Regions from separate parts of the Homo sapiens genome. Here regions 1, 3, 4 and 5 are each linked to region 2. The links are contacts of gene promoters, found by promoter capture Hi-C in blood cells and fetal thymus (Javierre and others, 2016). All regions are on one chromosome and are shown on one strand. The core of a region is centred on a gene start or on the middle of the fragment in contact, and the rest is flanking DNA. Distances in the headings are between cores, read along the strand shown.

The links. The method cuts DNA at HindIII sites, captures the fragments that hold promoters and counts their contacts. A CHiCAGO score of 5 or more calls a contact.
Region 1: a contact is called between a fragment that was not itself captured here and the fragment with the promoter of RARS2 in region 2, in 1 of 17 cell types (neutrophils). The highest score is 5.1, in neutrophils.
Region 3: a fragment that was not itself captured here is called in contact with the fragment with the promoter of RARS2 in region 2 in 1 of 17 cell types (neutrophils); the score reaches 5.2 in neutrophils.
Region 4: a fragment that was not itself captured here is called in contact with the fragment with the promoter of RARS2 in region 2 in 1 of 17 cell types (neutrophils); the score reaches 5.6 in neutrophils.
Region 5: a contact is called between a fragment that was not itself captured here and the fragment with the promoter of RARS2 in region 2, in 1 of 17 cell types (neutrophils). The highest score is 5.5, in neutrophils.

The regions. Positions count from the first base shown.
Region 1 is chr6:87,843,097-87,845,929 of GRCh38, reverse strand. The region is part of intron 2 of LOC101928911 (a long non-coding RNA gene); the gene reads right to left. It also overlaps the pseudogene RN7SL183P. Among named protein-coding and RNA genes, the nearest start is that of AKIRIN2, 140 kb to the right of the region's middle. The HindIII fragment of the contact is 5,348 bases long and covers 1-2,833 here.
Region 2 is chr6:87,588,628-87,591,697 of GRCh38, reverse strand. RARS2 (arginyl-tRNA synthetase 2, mitochondrial) reads left to right here and starts at 1,711. Exons shown (of 20, transcript NM_020320.5): 1 at 1,711-1,776. The coding sequence starts at 1,741. It overlaps ORC3 (origin recognition complex subunit 3), which reads right to left and starts at 1,563. Exons shown (of 20, transcript NM_012381.4): 1 at 1,506-1,563. The coding sequence starts at 1,529. RefSeq lists enhancers at 1-246, 1,627-1,856, 1,620-2,581. The HindIII fragment of the contact is 3,839 bases long and covers 18-3,070 here.
Region 3 is chr6:87,772,920-87,775,619 of GRCh38, reverse strand. No RefSeq gene overlaps it. Among named protein-coding and RNA genes, the nearest start is that of AKIRIN2, 72 kb to the right of the region's middle. The HindIII fragment of the contact is 2,476 bases long and covers 210-2,685 here.
Region 4 is chr6:87,815,628-87,818,377 of GRCh38, reverse strand. The region is part of intron 2 of LOC101928911 (a long non-coding RNA gene); the gene reads right to left. Among named protein-coding and RNA genes, the nearest start is that of AKIRIN2, 110 kb to the right of the region's middle. The HindIII fragment of the contact is 775 bases long and covers 959-1,733 here.
Region 5 is chr6:87,799,435-87,802,429 of GRCh38, reverse strand. All of the region lies in intron 2 of LOC101928911 (a long non-coding RNA gene), which reads right to left. Among named protein-coding and RNA genes, the nearest start is that of AKIRIN2, 99 kb to the right of the region's middle. RefSeq lists an enhancer at 2,497-2,566. The HindIII fragment of the contact is 4,103 bases long and covers 1-2,995 here.

The sequences.
Region 1 (2,833 bases), core at 68-2,567, 250 kb before region 2:
TGTTGCCCAGGGTGGAGTGCAGTGGCCCTTCACAGGGGCAATCTTACTACTGACAGAACCAGAGTTTTGACCTGCTCCGTTTCCAACCCGGGCCGGTTCACCCCTCCTTAAGCAAGTTGGTGGTCCCCTGCTCCCAGGAGGTCACCATATTAATGCTGTATTTAGTGTGGACCCCCAATTGGCATATCACATTTCAGCCCAGAACTCCTGGGCTCAAGGGACCTGCCTGCCTCAGCCTCCTGAATAGCTGAGACTACAAGCATGTGCCACCATGGCCAGCTTTCTTTCTATATTTCCTAGCTCTGCCCACTGAAACTGCCCAAAATAATGATGACTTCAGTAGCAATGAGTATCCTAACACCATATTTTTATCTCCAAATATAATTTTACACTAAACTGAACCAGGGCTCTTTGGATAAATGTTTGATTCCAGGTCTGGGACCAGAAAGTTAGAAATTGGTCCTGAAACATCTTGTCAACACAGATAGCAATAATGTTATCAAAGACTATTGGAGTGTCAAAAGGACCCAGGAATATACCTGAAGAGGCTCCCACTGGCCAAAGAAGGGAAAATTTGAGTGTCAATGAGGATAATAATGGCAACACATTGAAACATTAAAAATTCTTAAATCCATGAGTTTACTAACATACTATGGGGAAGAAAGAAGAAAACAAATTGCCACTATTGGAGGATGCTAAGGAACCAAATTTTGTTTAGAGAATTGGTCAATAAAGGGAAGAAAATCAAGCATGTATCCCCTTTCCTATATGAGTTGTATCAATGGATAACCGAAAGTAGATGACAATGAATCTCTCTTTATGAAAGTATTCTAGCTAACAATCAATCAAACTAACAAACAAAATATTCTAGCTAACAAACAAAAATGATAGAATTAGAATATCAGCATTCTCCAATCCCTAATGAATTAATGGAGCTAGACATTTTATACTAACAAATAATAATGTCACAAAGAGACACAGCAGATATTATAGGGCTCCTAACACAATGCCACCTACAAACTTGCCTTGCCCAAATACCTGAAGGTGAATTGGGTCAAATCTCCTGATTTAACTACTAACTAACAGGATGTACAGGGGACAGATGCGCATGGTAAACAACATGCTTGGGATGCAATCAGCAAAATCCAGGCTGAAAACTATACAGGACAAACAACCTGGTTTCTTTTTTTTTTTTTTTCTTTTCCTTTTTCTTTTTTTTTTTTTTTTTTTTTTTTTTTTTTTTTGAGACGGAGTCTCGCTCTGTCTCCCAGGCTGGAGTGCGGTGGCGCAATCTTGGGTCACTGCAACCTCTGCCTCCCGGGTTCACACCATTCTGCCCCCTCAGCCTCCCGAGTAACTGGGACTAGAGGCGCCCGCCACCACGCCCGGCTAATTTTGTTTTTGTATTTTCAGTAGAGATGGGGTTTCACCGTGTTAATCAGGATGATCTCGATCTCCTGACCTCGTGATCCTCCCGCCTTGGACTCCCAAAGTGCTGGGATTACAGGCGTGAGACACCACGCCCGGCCAACAACCTGGTTTCTTTAACAAATAAATTATAAAGAAAAAAAAGAAAAGCTGGACGGGAAACCTATAGATTTAAAAAAAAAAAAAAAAAAAGTAAGAGACATTTCAGCCAATAATATGTGTACGAGGCCGGGCGCTGTGGCTCACGTCTGTAATCCCAGCACTTTTGGTGGCCGAGGTGGGCGGATCATGAGGTCAGGAAATCAAGACCGTCCTGGCTAACATGGTGAAACCCAGTCTCTACTAAAAATACAGATCAGCCGGGCGTGGTGGCGAGCGCCTGTAGTCCCAGCTACTTGGGAAGCTGAGGCAGGAGAATGGCGTGAACCCGGGGAGGCGGAGCTTGCAGTGAGCCGAGTTCACGCCACTGCACTCCAGCCTGGGCGACAGAGCGAGATTCCGTCTCAAAAAAAAAAAAAATAATACTAATGATAATATGTGTACTTATGTGGATCCGAATCCAAAAGAAAAAGACAATTAGAAGTATGAACCCTGATGGATATTGATGATATGAAGGCTCCAGTGACTCCTGTGTATATTGTGTATATTTCTAGCCAGTGATTCCAAATTTTAATTAATTTCATAAGTATTCAGCAAGTTCAGTAAGATAAAAATTCAAAAAAATTCTTTGTTTGGCTGTTATTGCCTATATCTATATTTTTTATAAAAATTTTTTCTGTTTTCAGTTTTGTTCTTAATTAACAAGTTTTATTTTTATTTGTTAACAAAATTGCAAGGATATAGTGTTAGTAAATTTTATTTTAGTTCTACAATATAGATAATTTAAAATTAATTAGCTTTAATTCACTTTTAAAAAGAAAATAATATTTAAAAACCACATGTGTAAAAAAACTAGATGGGTAGATACATGATGAAAAGAGCCAGTATCGAAAAGATAATTATCCTCCAAATTAATCTACAAACATAATTCAAGTCCAGTCAAAATCCCAGCAAGATTTTTCATGTGACAAGGTAAATCTTTAATTTATACAGAAAATTAGAGGTCTAAGAAAAGCCAAGATAATTCTGAGCAAAGAGCTCTTCCCTGCTAGGTAACAAAATTTATTATAAAGCTATAGTAACTAAGACAGTGGGATATTGGCACAAAGATGGATAAATGGGTTAAGGAAACGGAATAGAAAGTACAGAAAGAGACCTATGTATATATGGGAACTTAGTACAAGTGGTCAAAATTAATGGGGGAAAGGATTAGCTAGTCAGTAGTTGTGTTATATTCCTAAAATTATAATAACAGTAATGTAGGTTGTTTTGAAAAACACAGTTTTTTACAAATACATCTATTCAC
Region 2 (3,070 bases), core at 462-2,961:
AAATAGTTCTTAAAGCTTCTTATTCATGTAAGGTCTCATCCCAATACAGACATTTGTTATAATACCAAAAATGCTTTCCTGAAAAATCTTACTTTCTGCAAGATACATAAAAATAAGAGGTGCTTATGCAATCAACAGGATTAAGGGATAGACCATTCAAAACCTACAGAACATTATAACCAGGACAAAATAAAACCAGTACCATTTCTAATAAAAATACTACCTTTGAATCTCTACTAGCATAACCTTAAACCCCAGGGCTTGTCCTTTTTCCTTGAGATGTAGTCTTTAAAAGCACTGCTTCTCATAAACCGTTTTAATCAAAATAAAAAATCAGATCCATGACATAGCCTTCTTCATCAATCCATTGTTTTAACATAGGGAGAATGTAGCTTCTTCATGTGCATTTTTCAGCTTTCTCAGACAGCTTAACTTCAGGGGCTTCCCGCTGCACTTACAATAGAACTCAAGGTCTTACTTTTTGTGGTCCAGAACAGCGCTGTCCAACAGAACTTTCTGTAATGATAGAAATGTCCTATATCTGCACTATCTAAAATGGTAGCTGCAGCCACATGTGATGATTGAGCACTTGAAATGTGGTTAGTGCAACGGAGAAACTGAATTTTTATTTAATCTTACTTTATTTTAACTCAAATTTAAATAGCCACATGTGGTGAGTGACTAACACATTGGACAATACAGCTCTAGGGCTTATCTTCTTACCAACTACACTATGTCTTGCAATTTCTTGCCATCTAGGTAGCCAACATGAGGAGGTCTATAAGATATCCCACCACACACACCCGCATCCACATTACTTTTTCATTCTCATTTTTCATGACGCTCCCACTCTTTGTCTACTTTCTGATTATGATTTTTAAATTCCTCTAATATGCCATTTTATTTCTATCTTCTGGGCCGAAGAAACATGCTGTTCTCTCTGCCCTCCTCGCCCTAATCCTTAACCTAACTTCTACTCATTTTTCAGGTCTCAGCGAAAGGGTCACTTTCTCCAAAAAGCCTCCGCTAACCCCCGACAACCTATATTAGGTTCTTCCCACTCTTCTGTTGTCTGCCTAGAACTCTTTTCCTTGCTAACACTTAAAATTTGTGATCGTCAGTTTATCTATGTTTACCGACTTTCTTGACTGCAGAAACTGAATCTGTTTTGTTTACCACTGCATCTTGGTACCTAACGGAGTGCTTGGCGCACAGTATTTGTGAGATGGAAAAATGAGAGACTGGGCCACATCATCAGGACATCCGACCTCCACCAACCAGAACTTAAAAATCCTCCTAGCCATACCACAAGGCAGATCCGCGTCCTCGCTCCCCAAGCAAAGTTGGCCTCAACTGATCTGGAGCAAGGACGCCTCAGCTCAGTACGCCGCTCCCTCCCTCCTCTCCAGCCAGGGAAGGGATGCCTACGTAACCTCGGCTTCATCCCTTCTTCAAAGGGGAATGAGGCAGCGGTAGAGCCACAGTGCGCATCGGCCACCACATACCTTAGACATCGAGGACGTAGCCATGGTCTTACTGACTCTGCGTATTCCAGATGCACTCGGGATTTCCCGCGCGCCCTCGCGGCTGCAGGGCAGAGGTTAGTGGCGAGCCACACGGCTCCTTGATTGGCTGGCATCACCCTCCGGGGCGGGTTTCCGGCGCGGGGAGGCGGGTCGTATAAGGAGGTGGGGCGAGGCCGGAACTGGCGGACTGCGGCGCACTTCCGTAGAGGTGGACATGGCGTGCGGCTTTCGCCGCGCTATTGCTTGCCAGGTATGGATCCCGGAGCGCGCAGAGGAGTCCCTGAGGAGCTAGGGACCCCAAAGGCCTTTCACCGCTGCGGGCCAGTCCTCAGTCAGCTGGAGGGTGGGTCCCACGGAATCCTGTTAGTTTCTACCACCTCCTCCCCCTTCTCTGGAGCTGGTGGAGCTTCAGAAGTCCTGTGGAGCGTCGGCTGGGATCAGTTTGTCTCGGTGAAAAGTAAACTTTGAAAGGTACCTGGTGCTTTCTTCTCTCCTTCCCACCCCACAGCTATGAATGCTTTACCTGGGTGGCGGCAAGTCATTAGACCATGATTAGACCCCATAGAAGTTAGTGTTCTTTACACTTTAGTGACATTGATGATGGATCTGGATTGTTCTTCAGAAGGACCTCATTTTAAAGCTGCTTATTTCTCTTGCAGTCACTTAGGCAGCCTACCCTAGAATTGTTTTTGGTAACGCCCAAAGATATAAGAGCTATCTGAGACTCAGTTTTTCTTGGTTCAGGGTCGTATTTGAACAGCTCTGTTGTGAGGAAGGGCTTACAAAATTGCAATATAATTGCTTTGTTTTGTTTTTCCTTTTTGTGGAGAACGGGGTCTCGCCGTATTGCCCAGGCAGGCCTCAAACTCCTGGGCTCAAGCTGTCCTCCCTCCTCTGCTTCCCTAAGAGCCGGGATTACAGGCCTGAGCCACCGCGCTGGGCAAAATTGCAGTATAAATGTGGAATTAATCAAAAAGAATTTTTAAGACTCATTGGCCACCCTTGCAAGGAAACTTTCTATTGTGGTCTTGGCTAACCCATTTCCTTCTGATTAATGGATGTACTAGTGGACGTAATTAGCCTGGTGTATAATTTATCTTGGCTCATTTTTACAGTATTTCTAGACATTTGTGGGGAAATCCCTCTGCCTTGTCTTTATGTTTATAGATGTACTGCCCTGTCCGGTGATAATTCGCCAAATATCACCAACATGACATTTTGTTAAGACAGCTGAATTTATTGCTCACTGGGATAAGGAAGAACACCACTGAGAGCTTTGGTAGTGTATTAAACTGGGAAAGCAAGGTCAGATTTTACTGATGGGTATGGCTTAAGGCTGGTCTTTCAGAGGGAGAGGGTAGGAGGGTGTTGGAGGAAGATGGCTTGATTAGGGTTGGACTCTGATCTGATACAGCGGTTTAAGATTGATAGGAAAAGCAAAGAGTGCAAGAAGCCTTAAGGCATAAACTATTGAGGTTTTCTATTGGAAGAACTAATAGGCCTGGCATGTGGTTCATGCCTATAATCCCAGCACTTTGGGAGGC
Region 3 (2,700 bases), core at 198-2,697, 180 kb before region 2:
TGTAGTCCCGGCTACTCAGGAGGCTGAGACAGGAGAATTGCTTGAACCTAGGAGGCGGCGGTTGCAGCAAACCAAGATTGTGCCATTTCACTCCAGCCTGAGTGACAGAGCAAGACTTCGTCTCAAGAAAAAAAAAAAAAAAAAAGGAAAGAAATGATGGAGGGGGCACGTCTGTCCTTCCAAACCCTGGTTCTTGCAAACTAAAAGCTTTCTGATGGCCGGGCATGGTGGCTCATACCTGTAATTTCAGCACTTTGTGGGGGCCAAGATAGGTGCATTACTTGAGTTCAGGAGTTTGAGACCAGCCTGGCCAACTTGTGAAACCCCAACTCTACTAAACATACAAAAATTAGCCAGGTGTGGTGGTGTGTGCCTGTAGTCCCAGCTACTCAGGAGGCTGAGGTGGGAAAATTGCTTGAACCTGGGAGGCAGAGGTTGCAGTGAGCCATTGCAGTCCAGCCTGGGCAACAGAGTGAGACACTGTCTCGAAAAAATAAATAAATGAAATAAATAAAAACTCTTTGGCTCCTAGGTCATTGTATCTGCTACAGACTCTTCACCAAATTTGGGAAGTTTTCAGACATTATTTTATCAAGTATTCTTTTGCATAGTTCTCTCTCTTCTCTCCTTTTGGAACTCCCATTATGCATATGTTGGCATGCTTGATTGTGTCCTACAGGTTTCTAAGGCTCTGCTCATTTTCTTTATTCCTTTTTCTTTCTGTTCATCAAACAGAAAAATTTCAGCTGATCATCACATTTGCTGATTCTTTCTTCTACCTACTCAGATCTTCTGTTGAGCTCTTCTAATGAAAGTTTCATTTCAGTTATACTTCTAACATCCAAAATTTATATTTTGTTCTTTTTCTAAATAATCTCTATCTGTTTATTGATATTCTATACTTGGTGAGACATCATTACCATACTTTACTATAGTTCTCTGAACATATTTTAAAGTAGGTGGTTTAGATCATGCCCACCCAGGGATGCAAAAAAAAAAGAAAAGAAAAGCTGATTTAAAGTCTTTAGTCTAAAGTCCTGTGCCTGAGCTTCTTCAGGGAGCATTTCTGTTGACTACTTTTTTTTTCCTGTGTTTGGGCCATACTTTTTATTTGAAAGTCTAGAAATATTTGTTAACCACTAAACTAGACATATAAAATACAAATAAATAAAATATAAATTTAAAATGTGGTAACTCTGGAAATTAGATTCTTTGCCCTGCTCAGGATTTGTTGTTGCTGGTTTCTATTTGCTGTTGTTTAGTGACTTTTAAGAACTAATTTTTTAATATTTGTATTCTTGAGGCCGGGCATGATGCCTCACACCTGTAATCCCAGCACTTTGGGAGGCCAAGGCGGGTGGATCATCTGAGGTCAGCAGTTCGAGACCAGCCTGGCCAACATGATGAAACCCCATCTCCACCAAAAGTATAAAAAATTAGCCAGGTGTGGTGGCTGGCACCTGTAGTCCTAGCTACTCGGGCGGCTGAGGCAGGACAATCACTTGAACCTGGGAGGCAGAGGTTGCAGTGAGCCAAGATCATGCCACTGCACTCCAGCCTGGGTGAAAGGGTGAGACTCTGTCTCAAAAAAATAAAATAAAATAAAATTTGTATTCTTTTTTATGTATGGCTGGTAAGTCTCTGCTCAGTTAGCTTAGTGTTCCTCTAGTGATTGGACAGAGATTTTCTTACACTTTTGGAATGGATACTTCTCCCAGTCTTTGCTGAAGGGCTCTGTGTGCATATTGGGGCTGCCTTCAATATTTAGCCAGGCAGTTGACAACTTTGCCTTAGGCTTCACTTTCTGTAGGGCCTCAAGGGCAGCCAGAGGTGACAGCTTAAGGTTTTCTCAGGTCTTTCCCGAGCATACACACAGCTCTTGTTAGCAGCAGCAAATCCATACAAATCTGCAGCACCTCAATTCTTGCCTCCTCAGACGAAATAATTCACCTGAGGGATATAAGGCAGACCAAGGCAAGTTTTAGAGCAGGAGCGAGAGTGAACGTTTATTTAAAAATTTTAGAGCAGGAACAAAAAGGAGGACAAGCAGGAGACTTCAGAGATCCAAGTGCACTGTTTGACCTTTGACTTGGGGGTTGTATGTTGGCATGCTTCTGGGGTTTTACGTCTCTTCTCCCTTGATTTTTCCCTTAGTGTGGGCTGTCTGCATGTGCAGTGGCCTGCCAGCACTTGGGAGGGGCCACATGCACAGTGTCTTTACTAAAGTTGTGCACATGCTTATTTGAGGCATTTTTCCCTTACCAGTCAAGTGTTCCTAAAGGAAGGTCATATACCAGCTAAACTTCATCATTTTGCCCCTTAGTGCGCATGCTTGAGCCTACTCGCCCAGCTCCTGAGATCTTATCAGGAAGCTGCTGATCACCAGTTTCAGGTGTTTTGTGTCTATTGGGAGCCAGCCTTTCCCTGGCACTGGCTGCAACCAATTATTATTTTAGACAGACAGTTCAACAACTATCTGACCATCACCTGATGGTTGCCTGACATTCCTGGTGGGGTGGGAGGCCCACTCCTGCCCTGCTCCTGTCTGCCTAGCTACTTGCTCTAAAACTCTTAGCATGCACAGAGCCCTACACATGCACATGACCTTCTAAATTCCCCGGAAATATGCCAGGGCTTTTCAAAATCCCTGTAAACATCTCACTCCTCAGTTTTTCCTTTTAAGCTTTTTGTTTAACCTAT
Region 4 (2,750 bases), core at 97-2,596, 230 kb before region 2:
ATCAGAGCACAATTCATGATGGCATGTTTTCCCAAGTTCCATCTCTCATCTTCCGTACTCTTCCCCTACTTCATCACATTACCAAGCCCAAAGTTGTGTATTAGTTAGCTTTCAGTATGTAATCACTACTCCAAATCCTAGTGGCTTAAAACAACAGCCATTTATTTAGTTCATAGTTCTGTGGATTGGTCAGCAATTTGGGTTGGACTCCACTGGTTTACCGTCATGCTGCTTCCTAGCTAGGTGGCTCTATTTCTGAGGCTAAGGTGGTCAACAGAGGCTACAGGGATATCTGACCCATCATCATCCTGCAGGCTAGCCTAGACTTGTTCTTGAATGCCTCTCATGGTTCCAAGAGGAAGAGCAAAAGTACATAAGGCCCCTTGAAGACTAAGCTCAAAAGTGGCTTAGTTCACCTCCCTAGCATTCTATTGGCCAATGCATGTCACAAGTTCAGCCAAATTCAGGGGTCAAGGAAATAGACATCATCTTTGCATGGGAGTAGCTGCAGCTACATTGCAAAGGGTCATGGATTTAGAGAGGGAAATAATTATGGCCCTTTTTGAAAAAAAAAAAAACAACTATGCATCAGGGGTTTGGGGAAAGGGCCGCCATTCCTGTTCCTTTCCTTACACCTTACTCTGCTTTTCTCACTGCTGTCTACTCAGCAATTCACCCAAATCTCCTCAAGTTTTTGCTTCTCAACTCTGCAAAACTCTTCTGAAATGATCTGGTCAACAAGATTTTAGACAGCTATCTCTCTCTGCTTAGCATTTTTCTGAATGTCAAATATCTTGCTGAGACAAGACAACATTAGGAAAATAACAGACTTCCAGAGCCTTAGGAATCCAGTGTGGGTTTATTTTTTTCTAAATTAACAATACAGTTTTCATAGAGTCCAAAACCCAAACCACTCTGATATTCTTGGCACACTATTTGTTCTCAATAGCTTCAAGCTTACTTTTAAATCCTTTGTGATCCTACTGGAAATCATTAAACAGTGAGTCATAGAAACTCTCTGATGGCCTCCAATAATTATTTTACCATCCACACCAGAAAATTTTTAAGTTCCATTTTACAAATTTAATCTATTGCTGAGATTATTTGTTGGGAGGGTCTCCATTTTTTCCTTACTGTGTCTCAGGGTCAGTGAGTCCCTGGCACTCGAAGCCCTTTGAGGGCCAGCTGCTATGGTATGATAAACCAAGATGCCTCCTGAAAAACACTCATTGCTGCTGCTTCTGCCCTTTTGTACATACTGGAATTTGTTCTGAGATGTCCCTCGCTTCTCCTTTTATAAATATCCATCTTTCAGAGCTTCAAAACAGAAGATCATACTTAGCTCAAAGCTGGAGCTTGTGCTGGGGAATTGAGCTGCTTAAACCCAGGTCTCCATGTATATCTGAGTGCTTAATAAACATTGAAAATGCATAGCACCAAGCTCCACAATTCAAGTCATAGTAGAAATTACTTGAAAGACTTGTAGAATTTCTTTGCAAGTTTTTAACATATCTACATCTCCTTTACCAATTGTTATCTTCCTTCTTGTCCCGAAGAGGCAGCCCTACTCCTCTTAATGACCCATCCCACTGTGTCTTTATATCACCCCATCCACACCACAAATATCACAGCCATAGTTTCCCCTCTCTTCTCTGAATTTTAATCTCTCCTACCTTAGATCTATGCCATCTGCCTACAGACATGATCAAGAGTTTCTGTGCCCAAAATAAGCTTTCTTTCAACTGACCTGCTGCCGTATTTTGGCTACCTCTCTACCCTTCACAGCCCCACTTCACCTCCTATCCACAACTAAGCACACTATAATTTGTCTTCAGCTCCCCACCACTCCTCTGAATAAACAATGTACAAATCAAATGACCTCTTCTCAGTCTCCCACTTGTCCTCTTGGCAGCATGTCATTCTTTATAACAGTATCGGGCTGGCATGGTGGCTCACACCTATAATCCCAGCACTTTGGGAGGCCAAGGTGGACAGATCACCTGAGGTCAGGAGTTCAAGACCAGCCTGACCAATGTGGTGAAGCCCCGTCTCTATTAAAAATACAAAATTAGCCAGGCATTGTAGCACATGCCTGTAACCCCAGCTACTCAGGAGGCTGAGGCAGGAGAATCACTTGAACCCAGGAGGCAGAGGTTGCAGTGAGCCAAGATTGCACCATTGTACTCCAGCCTGGTCAACAAGAGTGAAACTCCATCTCAAAAATATAAACTAATTAATTAATTAATTAATAACAGTCTACTTCGTTAAGCTTCATTAAGAACTCAAGAGACTTCTGAGACACTGCCTTCTCCTAAGTCTCCTCCAACTTCTCTGCTCTTTCCTGGTTTCTTCCAGAGACTCCTCTTCCTCCACTTCAGTCTCAAACATTGGCCTTCTTTGCTTATTCTAAACTCTCTCTAGGCAAGATTCCTTTTCCCTAACCATCTTACTGAACATCTCATACTAGATGTCCCACAAGCATTTTAACTTAACACTTCCCAAGCCAAACTTATTTTCTTCCTCCTCACAGCCTCCCAACTTAACTCATTTCTCTTCTTGCATTCCTCAACTTAGTTAACAGAAACACCATTGATTGTCTCCCCAGTATTCATTCACTCTTTCTATAGTAATAAAAGTTTTATCTGTGTATACAGCTATCTAGTTAAAGACCACGTTTCCCACAATCCCTAGCAACTAGGTGTGATCATGTGACTAGGTAATGGCAAATGGGATGTGAGCATAAGTAGTGC
Region 5 (2,995 bases), core at 418-2,917, 210 kb before region 2:
AAACTAGAGGTGGTCAATATTTAGAGAAGGATGGCCAGGCTCAATGTGCTTATAACCCCAGTGCATTGGAAGGCCAAGACACTAGGATGGCTTGAGGTCAGAATTTTGAGACCAGCCTGGGAAACGTAGAAAGACCCCATCTCTCCAAAAAATATATAAAAATAAAAATATTATCCAGGCATGGTGGCATGTACCTGTAGTCCTAGCTACTTGGGAGGCTGAGGCAGGAGGATCACTTGAGCCCAGGAGTTGAAGATTACATAGAGCTATGATCATGCCACTGTGCTTCCAGCCTGGGCAACAGGGTGAGACTCTGTCTGAAAAAAAAAACAAAAACAAAAAACAAACCAACAAACAAACAAAAAACCCACTGGATATTTGCCAATTTTTTCTATTTCTTTGTCTGAGAGTACTCCCAATTGGTCCCACCAAAAGGTGGCTAAAACTTGCACAGAAACCTTGCTAGCTAAGAAATCGGAAGACAAAATTCAAAGCAATAACAGCAGAGAAGTGAAAGGAGAAATAGTGGAAAGGAAATAGCCGCAGAAGGGAGACTCAAATTCTACATATAAACTCTGCCCAAATCTCTGGCCAGCCTCTAAAATATACATATGTTGGATAGATACCAAGAAATCTAGCTCGAGCTAAAAGAACTAAACAGATTTCAGTTGCCACACCACAGAGGAAAAGAATTTAGAAACTGAAATCAACTAGGTTAATTGCCTGCTAAAACACAAAATCAATACTCTTTAGAGTAACATAAGAGAATGCAGAGTCTCTATATCATTCACAATATGCACAACATGATCCAAAATTACAAGACATAAGAAAAAATGGGAAAATATGACTCATATACAAGAAAAATGACAATCAATGGAGACTCCTAAGATGATTTATATGTTGGAATTAAGAAACAAAAGTTTTAAAACAGCCATTATAATTACGCTCAAATATATAAAGGAAATATACTCATAACAAATGAGCAGAAAGAAAATCACAACAGAGAAATAGAAAAGAACCAAATGAAAATACTAGAATTACAAAATATAATATCTGCAATTTTAAAAACTCACTGATGGGCTTAACAATGAATTGGAAATGACAAAGGAAAGGGTCAGTAAATGTGAAGATAGATCAAAAGAATTACCCAATCTAAAAACAGAAAAGTCTGGGGGTGGTGGCTCATGCCTGTAATCCCAACACTTTGGGAGGCCGAGGCGGGCAGATCACCTGTGGTCAGGAGTTCAAGACCAGCCTGGCCAACATGGTGAAACCCCGTCTCTGCTAAAAATACAAAATTAGCCGGGCATGGTGGTGAGTGCCTGTAATTCCAGCTACTCTGGAGGCTGAGACAGGAGAATCGCTTGAACCCGGGAGGCGGAGGTTGCAGTCAGCCGAGATTGTGCCACTAGACTCCAGCCTGGGCAACAAGAATGAAACTCTGTCTCAGAAATAAATTAAAAATATAAATAAAAACAGAAAAAAAATTGAAAAAGAGGAGAGCCTCCAGGACTTGTGAGAAAGCAAAGAATAACATGTATAACATACACGTAATTATAGTCCCAGAGGAAGAGAAAAGAGAAGGAATGGGACACAAAAAATTTCTGAAGAAATAATGAGAGGAAGATTACCAAACTTGCTAAAGGACATACATTTAAAGATTCAGTAAACCCCAAGCAGGATAAATACAAAGAAAACTATACCTATGTACATCTTACCCAAACTGTTGAAACCCAAAGACAAAAAAAAAAATCTTGGAAGCATCAGAGTAAAGCACTCATTATATACAGGAAAACAATACAGATGATAGCTGATTTCTCATTAGGAAAAAAAAAAAAAAGAAGCCAGAAGAGAGTAAAAAAAAAATTTTTTTTTTTTTGAGACAGAGTTTCGCTCTTGTCACCCAGCCTGGGGTGCAATGGCTTGATCTCGGCTCACTGCAACCTCCACCTCCCAGGTTCAAGTGATTCTCCTGCCTCAGCCTCCTGAATAGCTGGGATTACAGGCACACACCACCACGCCCAGCTAATTTTGTATTTTTAGTAGAGACAGGATTTCACCGTGTTGGCCAGGCTGGTCTCAAACACCTGACCTCAGGTGATCTGCCCGCCTCTGCCTCCCAAAGTGCTAGAATTACAGGTGTGAGCCACTGTGTCCGGCCAAGAGTAAAATATTTTTAAGGTGCAAAAGGAAAAATGGTAAAACCTAGAGCTAGGATTCTATATCTAGTAAAAATATCCTTCAAGACTGAAGGCAGAATAAAGACGTTTTCTTATAAATGAAAACTAACAATGTTTGCTGTCTGCACCACAAGAAATGCTTAAGAAAGTTTTTCAGGCTAACAGGAAATGATAGCAGATGGAAATTTGGATTTCCCAAAACATTCTTTACAAATGGTAACTAGATGGGTAAATATAAAAAACAATATTTATTATTTTTCTCTAAAATACGTATCACTGTTGAAAGTAAAAATTATAGCATCATAATTGAGGGGTTTAAATCATGTGTATATGGAATATATATAACACCTGTAGTATAAAGGAGGAAGTTGATGGTAAAGCACAGATGGCCAGTGAAAGCGAAACTCCCTGGCAGACTTCATTTTTTATGTATAACTTACATTTAGTAAAGTGCAAAGATCTAAGTGTGCACTTGATGAATTTATGCGCATAACCACCACCGAGATCAAGATTTAAAATATTCTGACTCCCCCAAAACGTTCCCTTGTGTCCCTTCCCATTTGATGCCACTCATCTCGCCTCTATCACCATAGATTAGTGTTACCTGTAGACACCCATTTTCTCCATGTTTCCTTTTCCCACTTCTCAGTCCTCTGTTTTCCCTTGTTGCCTTTAGGGCTGTATTGGCACCTCTGTCAAAGGCTCATTAGAGGGATATGTATATCTATTCCTCAGAGCTACATAGATAAATTAATTTCTAAAACAAATTAATTTCTATTCCTCAGAGCTACATAGATAAATTAATTTCTAAAACA